4 separate regions of the Homo sapiens genome follow, and all the other regions are linked to region 1. The links are contacts of gene promoters, found by promoter capture Hi-C in human tissues and cell types (Jung and others, 2019). All regions are on one chromosome and are shown on one strand. Each heading gives the region's core, a stretch centred on a gene start or on the middle of the fragment in contact. The rest is flanking DNA. Distances are from core to core; before and after follow the strand shown. Region 1 holds the start of GPATCH2 (G-patch domain containing 2). Region 2 holds the start of ESRRG (estrogen related receptor gamma). Region 3 has its middle 16 kb from the start of ESRRG. Region 4 has its middle 290 kb from the start of ESRRG.

The links. The method cuts DNA at HindIII sites, captures the fragments that hold promoters and counts their contacts. A contact is called where the count stands out against the background at its distance.
Region 2: a fragment that was not itself captured here is called in contact with the fragment with the promoter of GPATCH2 in region 1 in 1 of the 25 tissues and cell types used here (IMR-90 fibroblasts).
Region 3: a fragment that was not itself captured here is called in contact with the fragment with the promoter of GPATCH2 in region 1 in 1 of the 25 tissues and cell types used here (mesenchymal stem cells).
Region 4: a contact is called between a fragment that was not itself captured here and the fragment with the promoter of GPATCH2 in region 1, in 1 of the 25 tissues and cell types used here (bladder).

Annotation. Positions count from the first base shown.
Region 1 is chr1:217,629,477-217,632,916 of GRCh38, reverse strand. GPATCH2 (G-patch domain containing 2) reads left to right here and starts at 1,827. Exons shown (of 10, transcript NM_018040.5): 1 at 1,827-2,001. The coding sequence starts at 1,946. SPATA17 (spermatogenesis associated 17) reads right to left here and starts at 1,573. Exons shown (of 11, transcript NM_138796.4): 1 at 1,471-1,573. The coding sequence starts at 1,538. RefSeq lists enhancers at 1,549-1,788, 1,819-1,888. The HindIII fragment of the contact is 13,029 bases long and covers 1-3,440 here.
Region 2 is chr1:216,720,895-216,724,334 of GRCh38, reverse strand. It overlaps ESRRG (estrogen related receptor gamma), which reads left to right and starts at 906. Exons shown (of 7, transcript NM_001438.4): 1 at 906-1,091. The coding sequence starts at 1,036. The HindIII fragment of the contact is 4,903 bases long and covers 1-3,440 here.
Region 3 is chr1:216,738,069-216,741,508 of GRCh38, reverse strand. It overlaps a transcript of ESRRG not described here. Among named protein-coding and RNA genes, the nearest start is that of ESRRG, 16 kb to the right of the region's middle. RefSeq lists an enhancer at 716-1,283. The HindIII fragment of the contact is 3,332 bases long and covers 219-3,440 here.
Region 4 is chr1:217,012,742-217,016,181 of GRCh38, reverse strand. It overlaps a transcript of ESRRG not described here. Among named protein-coding and RNA genes, the nearest start is that of ESRRG, 290 kb to the right of the region's middle. The HindIII fragment of the contact is 7,901 bases long and covers 1-3,440 here.

The DNA.
Region 1 (3,440 bases), core at 578-3,077:
TAGTATTGTAATTATTTTTTAAAAGCCTATATTCCATACAAGGATGTGAACATCATGATGGATGGGGCTTATTTCATTTATATATGTCATAAATACAGCACCTGCCACATACTCTAAATAAATAGATAATTTCTATGTTTAGCTATTGTTAGTATGTTTACTTAAACCAGGGCTACAGATTTATTGAAAAATTCATTAATGTGAGTCTTCAACAATTATTGTGTTACTATTATTTGTATGGGGCTATCATAGACGTTGGAGACAAAAATAATGGTGAGCAAAATAAGAGACACTGTCTCTGCTACTAGTTTAAGAGGGGAGATAGATATTATCTCATAAAAGAATGTAAAATTGAATTGTGATCAGTGCTGTAAGAGAGGTACGTTGTGAAATAATGATGTAGTAGGTGAGATAAACGTTAGAATAAAAGCAGCTCAGCAAGACCCTATCTCATTGACATATTTTCCATTGGTCTGTCATGTCACTGTATTCCATAATAGTCTAATTCACTTTTTTGCAGTTTCTTTTAAGTTACAAAAACTCCTGGGGCAATGCTTCTTTAAAATGAAACTCTTCCTGGGCAAGAAGTTTGGCTGTAGGGAGATGAAGAAGACTGCTAGTGGTTTTCTTACCCGTTATCTATTAATTAATATATTGGTACTAGTTACCGTGTCAGAATGGTTTAGACACTTTCATTTTATTTTATTTTATTTATATTTATTTATTTATTTATTGAGACAGGGTCTTAATTTGTCACCCAGGCTGGAGTGCAGTGGTACAATGTCGGGTCACTGCAACCTCTGCCTCCCAGGTTCAAGCGATTCTCCTGCCTCAGCCTCCGGACTAGCTGGGATGACAGGCATGTGCCACCATGCCCGGCTAGTTTTTGTATTTTTAATAGAGACGGGGTTTCACCATGTTGTCCTGGTTGGTCTAGAACTCCTGGCCTCAGGTGATTCGCCCCCCTCGGCCTCCCAAAGTGCTGGGATTACAGGCGTGAGCCACCACACCCGGCAGATACGTTCATTTTAAAAAGGCGAATGAGTCATAGAACAATTGAGTTTAGTGATGTTTGTAAAATAACGGAGGCTCAAATCCCTAGGTAGATGGGACACAATCTGAGTTCATTGGGCTAGTGAGTCAGGGTGACCCCCAGTCAGGGTATTGAACATAGGTTTCATCAAATTGCAGAGTGGTGATGTCGAAGAAAAAAAGCACTTTACAATTTTATCTATGCTGGGAGTTTCCTTAAATCATCTCACACTGAATATCTACGGCCCCTCTCTATTTAGAATTTCGTTGTATGGTAACAGAAACTCCCAATTATGTTTGCAGCCCATTAAGGGAAGAATTGGGTACTACTTAATGAATTAGGGTAATCGTTAAATCGTTAATTGGAAACTCCCGCTGAGGAACAACTGGTATAAAGTCACGCCCGCCCTTTACGCGATCCTTCTCTTCCTGACTTACCTGTTCCTAAAGTAGTACTGATTTCCTACAGTCGACGACCTAGCTTGCAGCCGGGCTAACGTGGCCATGGTCTCTTGGCCTTGGGTTTACAACTGGTGTTACTACCGGTCTCCATGGTAACTGGGCTAAACCATAGCTCACTCCCGGGGTTCGACTTTTTGTTCACTCCTCTTTTCTCTCATGCTGCTTTGACTTTAAGAGCACTAAAAAGAGAATTAAGAAATTTCTGTGTAGCACAAAAGTTTAATTTATTTGTCTCTGTCTCTACTGCGAGTAGGAAGAGGGGATTATAGGAAGGGGAAAGCAGTAAACGCGGAGAACTAATGGTTGCTCCGGGCATCCGGTTTCCGCCGCCTGTCGGCTTCCGGAAGCTCATCTCAAAATGCTGAACTGCTCTTTGGAAGTCGCCGGTGCTGTTGTAGTTGGAGTCTGTTCACGGGCCTGAGCTTCGAGGCCAGGCTCCCGGGTGTCGTTAATGTTCGGGGCCGCCGGGCGCCAACCGATCGGAGCTCCAGCAGCCGGGAACAGCTGGTGAGGCTGGCGGCCCTGGGGAGGGGGAGGTCAGGGAAGGGTGTGATTGCCCGAGGCCGCTCCGCTGGACCTGGAATGGAGGCGGGAGGGAGCTGTGATGGATGATCTGAAGACATCTAGGCCTTGCTCTCACTCATTCCTGGGATGCACGCAGTTTGAGGGAGCTCTTGGGTGTGTGCCAAAGATTTGTGAAAGAATACAGTAAATGTTTTCTGATTGCTTGTTTAACAATATTTTAGAAGTCAAGCTTCCTGTACTCCAGGAGCAATTCATCTCCTCATTGATTGTTGACAACACTAGGGACAGGAAGAATTTATCTTAATCCGGGCCTTATTCCCCACTCCTCTTTCAATATTTACCAGATTATACCAAGTCTTTTGGAAGATAAATTCCAGAAATCTAGAGTTCTGGAAGTTCAATCGTGGAAAACACATCACCCTCTCACCCCCTTTTTTAAAGAGAGAGGGTAACCTACCTGTTTCCACCCTCTTGAACATTCTATTCAAGTTAAAGTGAGATATGTATGGGGGCTTTCCAAGAACCTATAACTGTCAGGATTAAGTTTGGGGCTTGACTATGTCTATGGTATCATGTTAGAATAATATATTGCTTTGACTTTTCAAAGTATTTCCACAAATTAATACACTTTATCCTATGACAGCCTTGTGATAGCAGAATATCACAAGCACAGAAAATTCAAGTACCGTGTCCAAAGTTGCCCTGTACATTTTAATCCTAGAGCTAGAATCCTGATTTGGGGATTTCTAGTTGAACACTCTGTATTATCTGTCCTGTTTTTCTCCCAAGCCCTTTTCCTCCAAACATAACATAAGACAACCAGTGACACAAACAAGCAATTTCCCATTGAAAATCCTCAAACATAAAGTTCTGACCAACAGGTGAAAGAAATGTGGCTAAATGGTGCGTGTTCATTCCTAGATTCTGCAAAAATTAGAACATGAGGAATTCTAGTAGTCTGTGATCTCAGATAATTGCTTTTCCATCACCTATCACTGAAAAGTTAAAAGAATACCTTATCCAAAATATTTCTAGTTGGACCTGATCATCCTGTAGTTAATTTTATAGTGAATATAGATTTGATTATACTATTTGTAAATTATTACATTTTCCAGTGAGAAAAGTAGGGAGCATTTTTTAAATGAACCAGTTTTTAATGGTATAACTAGCATAGAATGAAATGCACAATTTTTACAGGCTTAATTTTATTAGTTTTGGCAATTGCATATACTTATGTAAACACCACACAAAACAAGATAATGGATTTGTCCATCACCCCACAGTTCCCTCTCAAGGATACCTGTCTTAATGTTTCACTGTTCATTATCTTGGTTAAGTCAGGGAGACAAAATGTCCTATGTAGATTGGTCTGCTCTTCCTAGGGTGCTATTGATTTGTAGGGTAGGTGACTACATCAGAAT
Region 2 (3,440 bases), core at 664-3,163, 910 kb after region 1:
GAGAGAGATTTAATTCGCTATTTACCCCCACAGCCCTCAGACTCCCCACCCCTAAAACTGAAGAAGCCAATTTGTCCTGCGGCTGTTTACCGTTGTTTTGAAAAGCTATGCGTTGTATCTATATGTAAAGAGACAGTCGCAGGTATAGAAAGGTTTACACATATAATTTACTTAGGCATTCTTTCAAATTGTATTGTCACTATCTCCTCTTCTGTAGTTGTGTAAAACTGCATTCCACCTCAGAGATGACGATCCCAGTTCACATGCTCAAACAATTTAGAAGAATGCCTTTATTATTATTATTTTTAATGCCCAGCATACATCAGGAAAACAGGAAAAGACATGATTAGGAATACATGAGAAAGTACAGCACCAAATAAGCCGCGGCCCCCGGTGTAATAAAAACACAGACAACGGCAGGACAAACTTAATTCTCTACCTTCCGCAGAATCCTTTCCCAAATTAACTGAGAGTCTGCGTGAGTTCTCCTTTTCAAGGCAAAAGAGATCTTAGGTTAGAAATCAAAGGCAAATCCCTCCAGTGCTTAGAGAGTTAAGTTAGTTATGTTTCTTTTGTAGCTTCCCAGAAGAAAAAAAAAAGAAAGAGAGAGAAGGGAGGAAAAAAAATCAAACCCGAGAGTGTGTATTGGGAGCGTTTCAATCGCTCCCTTCTCCGCTCCCTTTTTCTCTGCCCACTCTCAGTTTCCAGCCCCCTTCGGCTCTCTGCACCCTGCCTACCTGCCTGGCTCCTCTCGCTCCGTGCAGCCTCCCGTCGCCTCCCTCCTGATTGGGCAGAGGCCCCCCAATCGGCTGCGCGGCTGGGCCGGTGGGACTGCATATGTAAAGCCCTACTTCATATTAATAAGCTCCAATCGGGGCTTTAAGTCCTTGATTAGGAGAGTGTGAGAGCTTTGGTCCCAACTGGCTGTGCCTATAGGCTTGTCACTAGGAGAACATTTGTGTTAATTGCACTGTGCTCTGTCAAGGAAACTTTGATTTATAGCTGGGGTGCACAAATAATGGTTGCCGGTCGCACATGGATTCGGTAGAACTTTGCCTTCCTGAATCTTTTTCCCTGCACTACGAGGAAGAGTAGGTACCTTTTTTCTTTCCTTTTTAAACTCGTCGTGGGGGTGCGGGGGTGGGGGCGGACAGACTATATCTTTACACACTGATTCAGGTAATGCCCTGGGTATTTTGTGTGCACGACTGCTTGTTTGTGTCTGTCTTGTGTCTTTTGTGTTGAGGGTGATCTCCTAATTCAGTAAGTCGAGAATTGTTCTCTGACTACAATGTTACCTTTGAGGCAAAGCTCAGTGACTGTCAGTAAAACAGCTGTGTGACAGTCACTTCTTATTCAGGTGCTAAGAATAGGCACTTGGCACAAATGCTTAGTGAACTGTTAAAATGCATCTTTTACTAGGACCCATTTTCCCAAGGAAAGATGTTTTAAAATACAATATTCAAAATGATTTATACTATTGAGGGCCTCTTATGTATTTGCAGTTTGACAGATATTTTCAGCTCCTTGTCATTTCTTACCGCGCAGAGTTAGAGGCAAAATTGCACATTTACTAATTCTCCTTCAGAGAACAATTTAAAAGCTAGCCCTATGCAATTCTGAGCTAGAATAATGTTATTTGCATGGTTAGCGTTAAGTCAGCACTTAACTGACAAATCAGTCCATTAAGTAACATGAGATTTTCACACATTATAAATATTTAAGGGGGGAAAAAAAACTAAAGAAGAAACAGTAGTGACTTTAAAATTTTCCCCTTAAATACTGCTCAGAGTGTGGATTTGTCTCGTTTGTTGTGTCCAGAAAATATAGAAAAGTACTTTCGTTCTTACAAGCAGTTTAATTAGTATTTATGGATATCTTTATGCACATGGAAATATATATTTAGATTACTAAAGGGGGGGGAGTGAGTAGGGGGTACGAGAAGTAAGTTAGGCATTTTTGTGTAAATGAGTAGGTGATAAACTTAATTTCAACCTACTGTTAAGATAAAATGTTAGTATATCACGAGAGCTGTCACTGGTTTATCTCCCTTTCTGTTGAGTCAGTTATATTGCTTTGCTTTCACATTACAGTAATACCAACTGTTATAATTCTGAAAAGAGTGCCCTTGGCAAACATTTCTCTCTATAGATTGTGAAGAAAATATCAAACTCTAGAAGATGAGGTAGTGCATTATAGGTAGATGTCCACTAGCTGTCCTTAGTGACTGCATATTGCATTGCTTTGTAATTAAGTAAGAGATGAAAAGTGACTTGCAGTCTCAGTGGCTGCTCCTGTATGTTTGAGCGTGAGTGTGAGTGTGTGTGTGTATGCACGCTCACACATGCACATCCACCCACATCCATGCTCACACAGGGAATATTAGCCAAGAGATGGATTTAGGAGGAACTGAAAGATTATAAGGCTGTGCTTGCATCAGTTTGAAACACTCAAGGGAAGAAACAACCTTAAGATGTGTAAAAATAAAAATGAAAAATAAACAAAGGTAAGACTGCCCGCTCAAGTGTAGTTTGAAGGTTAGTGTACTTCGGGCTGTAGAATTGGAGAGTTTAAGACGTCTTCGTGTCAGGAAGAATGTCTTATCCAAGCACGCCCAGATTCTGAACTTTCTCTTGTAAATAAATAAAGAAAACAAACTTTAAAAATCCCCCAGAGGCTTCTTTTTGAAGTAGTTTCCTTGAATTTAACTTCTTATAGCTAATTTGAATAATTCGTTTAGATAAGCCTCTTAAAGCAGATGCATTTAAATGAAGTCAAGGCACATGTCCTTTTGGCTTTGGCGCAAGATTCAAACTAGCTTTCTTTTGGGCTCAATTAAAAGTCATCTTTAAAAAATACAGATTTATTGTCTGGATGCAGTTCTGATGGTTACGTGGTTCACTGGACAGACAGAAAGATCTAACGCTAAGCAACGCATCTGCCTCTCTGTCTCAATTAATAAACCACAGAATTTATACATGCTATTAATATTCATAGTAATTGTACCGGGTTAAACCCCATCACGTGTGTGTATACACAGAAATGAAACCAGAGTTATACAGTTTTAGGGGCAAATATTGGACAGTTTCTGCTTTGGAGGCTGTTAAAAAGATTCATACCATTTATTGACCACCATTAAGAGAGCTTAAAATGTTAACCTCTAACTATGTATTTTTTTATTTTAGGAAATGTGCCAGCACATTAAAGAACATAATACTTGAAAGCTTGTTTCACATTTAATAGCAGTAATAGCTGATAGCATAAATAGATGAAAATAATATATCTGCTCATTTTGACATATGTGTCAGTCTAATCATTCTAAATGAGTGTGCTCATCACATGAATCCCTTTCAACCTCTGATTAAAATGTAACATTGACTACAGGATTATAGAGCGGACTTAATTTTACTGACTGTTTTAACAGTTGTCACAGCTGTTGG
Region 3 (3,440 bases), core at 635-3,134, 890 kb after region 1:
TTCTGAGTTTCCATCTGGAAAAGAGGTATATGTGTGTGTGTGTATGTGTAGGGGGGTATTTTGGGGTGTGTGCAGGGGCGGGGGGGAGTGTTAGAAAGGGGTTGTGAGGTTGGTGTTTTAGCCTGAGGGGTCCACACATGTAGTGACACAGGATTGTGAACAGGTATAAAGAAATAATTATAATATAAATTATAAACATAAACTATATAATATAAATTACAAATATAAATTATATAATATAAATTATAAATATAAATTATATAATATAAATTATAAATATAAATTATATAATATAAATTATATAAATTATAAATATAAATATAATATAAATTACCCTGACCCCAAAGAGCTTTCAATCCTCTGTTTAGACAATGTTCTGTTTTTATATCCAATGCTATCCCATTATGTTGGACAGTCTTCCCATATGGGGACGGGGGCGTGAAAGAAGAGAGAGGGGGGACTGTGATAACTCAATGCCAGTTATATTTGAGAACCAATTTCGTATATGACTTTAAAAAATTTATCTGAGAATTAACACTTTAAATTCTGCCCAATGAAATAGTTAAATTCAGAAGGTGGAAAAATGAAAGAATGTCAATATGTATATATAATCCCATTTTGATAAATGTGACATGGTAAATTCAAAGCCACTCCAATAAATGTCAAGCTTAATACAGGGGCACCTCTGCCTGCAAATAATCTCTAGGAGTGAGGAAAACACTACAAATAAAAAAATGGAACACTTTAAGTTCTTGATAATTTTTTAGTTCCTCTGTCGGTGATATAGAAAGGTGTGTAGAAAGCATTATTTCTCCACAAGCATCTAAGGCAGGGTTACAATTTCTTTCTTTTTTTCTTTCTTTCTTCTTTTTTTTTTTAATGTTAAGCACGTTCCTTTGCAGGGCTTAGAAATCTCTCTCGTCCAAAATTGAACAAAAAAGGCCTCCCCTTGTGCTTTTTTTGTCAGGCTGATGAAGCTGTATAGAAATGTAAATGCAATATAAGAGATGGTAGTGGGAAGCTTGTGTTGTGCTCTCCTCTTCTCTGGGGCTCTCTTGTAAAATTATTCTCTGATTTTGCTGTGTGTGTGTGCACCTCTTGTGTAAGGGCATTTAATTAGCTACAAGTTACAACAAAGACTTTTGAAAGGAAAATGTGTCTGTGGTGCAGATGCCTTTATTTTCATTCTGTGAACAGCTAGGTTTTTAACTCCCTTATCAAGAGCTGCATGAACTGCCCAGACTAAATTGGGAACATCTCCACACTGTTTGACAAATAGATTTTTTGTAAACTGATTTAGCCTTTTCATTGTTTGCATTTCATTATATAGAAGACTTCATGTCACAAAATTGGTATTCATTCAAAATAGAGAATTTAGAGATAGGACTGTAGCCAGATAAAAAATATTGCACAGGTCGGGGCTATTAAGCATAGAATAATAGCAAGTCAGTGATCCAAGGGGCTGTTCTTCAGCAGCAAAGGGGCTAACATAGCCGAGGTCAGCAGTCAGACTCAGGACTGAAGATGTGTCTCTGGCCACATTTACAAGACAATCTGCAGGGAACAGAGTGAGGAATGAAGGAGTCTGGCAGGATAAACTGTAGGAAAGAGACGTCTTTGCATCTCAAATTTCATTCTCCTGAGGGGTCGGAGGTGGGAATTTTAACAGTTGAGAGGTGTCTTGGTCTGTTTTGAAACATTTGCGCATCAGAGTTTGGGTTCCATGGCACATATAGGAGAGCCATATTAGCAAAATAGATTTTGAGAAGGAGTTAGCAGTGAGCTGGGTTTTCATTTCTTCTAAATCTTTTAGCTTAGACCAGTGGGTCTCAAACTCGAACATGCATCAGAATCACCTGGAGGACTTGATAAAGCACAGATTGCTGAATCCTATCCCCAGGGTTTCTCTGGGGTGGCAGGGCCGAGAATTTACACTAACAGTTCCTGGATAATACTGATATTTTCCTTTGAGAACTACTGGTATAAACTCTACATACCAGTCATCAGACGATCAAATGATTTGCATTTTTAGAGCACCTATCAGTTAAACCCACTGAGCAATGAGCATTGGCAGCTCTTCACTGTTAACCTCAAATAGAAAGTCCAAAAGATCACAGAAGATAGTTTATGTGTAGGAGTTGTCTTTGTTTTGTTTTTATTTAAAAAATAGCTTATGTAGAACTATGTTTATATCACATCTTATTCTGCCTGTTTCCCACAGCTGGGGAACTTTTTTTTTTTTTTCACTTTAATGAATCTTTGGAGATACCTTTTATGCACTTGTCTCTCAGTGTCGGGATTATTTATAAAGATAAACAGGATGCAGTTTTACTCTCAAGAGGCTTACAGTCATGGGAGAATCAGATAAATACGAAGAAAACATTAATAGCATTTGGTTAGTTGAGATGATAGAGGGATGCTGAGGTCTCTATTCTACTGGGAGCCTCCCCTGACCTCCGCTCCAAGGTAAACTAAGTATTAAGGATAAGTAGGGGCTGGTTGCAGTGGGACATACCTGTAATCCCAGTGCTTTGAGAGGCTAAGGTGGTAGATCACTTCAGGCCAGAAGTTTGAAGCTGCAGAAAGCTATGATTGCACCACTGCACTCCAGTTTGGGTGACAGGCCTGGGTGACAGAGTGAGACCCTGTCTCATAAGTAAATAAATAACAAATAAAATTTTTAAAAAGGATAAGTAAGATTTTGCTAGGCAGAGAGAAGTGAAACATTAGCATGTATTCAGGAATCTGCCAGTGTTTTGAGAGTCCTAGAATTTTTTTTGTTTATAAGTGCACGCTGCTTCATCTTTCTCAGCTCTGGCATTTATTTTACTGTCTCACCATTTCATACTTTTCCCCTACTTAATCCACTTTTTCCCCTTACTACATTCTGTTTGACTGTTATTTTCTGTTAAATAAATAATCTGCATTCATTGTAAAATTATCTAAACAATACATAAGAATATAAGGAAGAAAATGAAAAGCAACTAAATTTTATTGCCTTATGATACCACAGATTTTGTTTAACCATTTCACATCTGTTTTTACTCTGAAGCATAGTATTTAGAATAGATTTTTACATTATACTCAGCTCTTCATTGATAAGCATTTTATGGTTCACTTTTTTCTCCTTAGTTGCTTGGCAGTATAGGACTTATTTTAGTAAAGTTTCATAAACTGATGGATCCCTGGAAATTTGGTTTCTCAGCATTGTGTCACTACAAAAGCTGGAGTCCACAGATGGTCTTCACTTTACCCTAAGCCCCTTCCTCAGCAGTTAACTTCACCTTTTTCCTTCTTTTTAATGTTGGCTGCAGTTTGAAACCCCAGTAGATCTTATCCCAAAAATACCACTGTATGGACCCCACCCTCAGAGATTTTCACTGGGTGAGACCCAGGCAGCTGTACTTTTAAAAAGTCTCCAGGTGATTCCAAAGTGGAAC
Region 4 (3,440 bases), core at 669-3,168, 620 kb after region 1:
AGCACTTTTTAACATTTTCTTCAATTGAATTTTATTCTCACACTATCACTCGCTTCTTTTCCTAACCTCTTTTATTTTGTTCATCATTTTTCTCTGTTCTAAGATCTCCCTTCCAGTCTACTCCTGAAATCAGCCATAAGAAGGGGAAGGTAAGATCGACACAAACTTTCTCGGCATATTTCTTTCTCACTTTAAATCTAGCCGCCCTCGATCACCTGAGGTCAGCAGTTCGAAGCCAGCCTGGTCAACATGGTGAAACTCCATCTCTACTAAAAATACAAAAAAATAGCCGGGCGTGGTGGCATGCGCCTGTAATCCCAGATACTCAGGAGGCTGAGACAGGAGAATCATTTGAACCTGGGAGGTGGAGGTTGCAGTGAGCCAAGATCATGCCATTGCACTCCAGTCTGGGCAGTAAGAGTGAAACTCTGTCTCAAAAAAAAAAAAAAATCTAGCTGCCCCCTCTCACCCCCCACACAAACAAAACCTGAGGTTCCTGAAATATCAAACCATGCTTGCCATACGTAATTAAGATCCTCACAACTCTCTTGCATCTTGTATAGGTATTTTCAGGAGGTGAGAAAATATGATTGAGTACACAATTTTAGTTAATTAAGGAAATTTCCATGTATCAGGATGACATAAACACTTAGAGCTCCTGTGTAGAGAAAAACAACCCTATAAACCTCCTCCAATGGAATGATGAAAGAAAAGATACTAGTTTGAGCCAAGTTTCAAGGAAATAAATTTATGTTTTATATATTTTACTTTGTCTAAACTATGAGTTTAATTCTTGTTTAGGTAGTGTACATCTGAAACATTATTAAGGTGAAATTTTGCTTTTCCAGCAGTGTCTGGATGATGGCCCTTAACAAATGCAAAATTGGACATTCATGTAAAAGGAAGCAAAGAAAGACCAGTGAAGAGATGGTAGAAATTGAATGCAGCCAGAAAAACACAAAATAATGCAAACAATCAGCCCCTGCACTATTTTCAGAAATCCAGAAGCTAACCTATATGGGGTTCTGCACTGTGTGGGTATGTGGAGTAGTATAGGGAGGTACCTGTTGTCAAGAAAAGAGATGATTGGATTCGGGTTCATAGAAAGCTGAGTTTAGAGAAGGGTTGATCTTCTTTATTTTCAGAGCAGATTGTTCAATGGGGTTTCTGCTTTTTTTGGTCATTTTTCTAAGTGATGCTTGGAATGTATTCAGAATTCAATTGGTTTGGGAGCTGTAATGAATCGCTGTGGAATGAGCAACCTGAGAAATAGAAGATTTGGGGCTGATTAGGATTTGATGTAGAACTCCTGCATCTTATTTAATCATCTACTCAAATCTCCAAGAGGCTACTAAAGGTAGAGAATAAATAAATGAATAGAGATAAAAATAATTGAACCCAACTTAAGTCTAAGATAACTTATATGCTCCTCTTTTAACTTGCATGTATTTTCTCATCTCCTGAATTTCCTCTTTAACATCCTAAGATGAAGAAGTTGCCCAGTAAATAAAGCACCAGGATGGAGCTTATAGGTCGCCCAAGTCCATGGTCACACTAGTTGAATGTTTCTTTGGGATGACTGTTGGATGCCTTTTATTACTTTGATTTCCTTACCTGTATGATTTTATAGAGGACCAGTATCATAGGGGAAATGTGGAGAGCAAACAACCAATGAGAGAAAGCCATATTGGAAAGCACTTGTTTTAAAGAAAAAAGTTATGAATCCATATGCAGAACAGAGCAGTACAGAATGAAAACTATTGCAGGTTTTGATAGGTATGTTAGAAAAGAGTCACTGAACAATTTCCTATTAATTCTGGGGCACTTATACTATTTTTAAAATATCCCACAAACCTTTGCCTGACAAAAGAAGAGTAGGAAATAAAGCCTTAGTCTCTGCAATGACAGCTGTTCCCATAGCAACCTGTCTGTCAGTCAACACCCACTTCATCCAGCTTCAGAAAACACCCCCAGAAATAAATGTCAAAAGTCTTATGCAGGTTCCAAATTTAAATCAAACTTTAAAATAAATTAAAATAAGAACCCAAACACCCACAGCAGTCACAAAAGTAAATTTTGGAAGGAGGGAAAGGGGGTAAAAAACAAAGGTCAAAGGAATCCTCCAAGCAGATGCAGGAAGTCAAAGAAGGGTGGATAGGCACCCTTCACTCCTTTTGGAGCATTGCTCTGATAAAGCATTATTTACCTAGGTGGGCACTAAATGCAATCCGTTCATATCTTGTTCCTCTTGCTTTAATAGTTGGCTTTCATTTTCATGATCATCAAATCATATTTACCCTCCTCATTCACTCTGGTGTGCTAATGTTTCAGCCCCTCATTTTAATGGTAGGAGGTAACAAGATTCTAATTACCAGTCAGGGAGCACTGTGCTTGGCCACTCTTTCAGGGGGGATGACATTTAGCTAATAGTGACTGGCCCTTCTAGCAATTAAAATGATCTCACATGCCATCCTTAGGTCCTGTGTTGCTAATGTATACTTCAAAAAGTAAGCACTAAACAATCTTTTATCCAGAGATGAAATACATTTAAAGCCTAATGTCACACTTCAGGGGTAAGTGATAGGTCTTAACCTCTCTTTTCTGTGAGCCCTAAATTATCTGGCAGAGAGGCATTTAAAGGAACTATAGATTGTCAGAGATTATGGACTGTCTGTCCTTCAAAAAGCTGTAATGTATTGAGTTTACTTGTTCAAATGTCCATGGACATGGAAGCAAAACAACAAAAGTTATGCAATTTTACATTATTCTTTGCCAAATTTATACTTGTTACTTAACATCATGTTAGTTCTCAATCTGTTTTTTGCATTAGTGTAATGCAGTCTTCAAACACCCCTTTGACATCCTAAGGTAATATCTGCTTTGCTCAGTGAACTAATGGTCACCTTAGCTGCACATACTTTTTCTTAGCATCTAATAAAGAGAGCTGCTTATAGTTTTGTTATGGGTTGAATTGTATACTCCAAGAAAGATATTTTGGAGTCCTAACCTCCAGTACAGAGGAATGTGATCCCGTTTGGGGATAGAGCCTTTCCAGAGGTAATCAAGTTCAAATGATGCAATTAGGGTGAGCTCCAATCCAGGATTATCCTCTTATAAAAAAGGAGAAATTTGGACACAGAGACAACATGCATAGAAGGAAGACATGATATGAAGAAACTCATGGAGAAGACAACCATCTGTAAGCCAAGAAGAAGAGCCTGGAACATTTTCTCACAACCCTCAGAAGGAACCACCCCTATCAACACCTTGATTTTGAACTTCTGAGTTGTAGAGCTGAGATAATATATTACTGTGGTTTAAGCCACTCAGTTTGTGGTACTTTGTTACAATAGCCCTAGGGCAAACTATGAATAGAAATCCTGAGGATATAATACAGTAATATTCAAAGAACTCAGAAAAAAAAGGAGCAGGGATTCTTG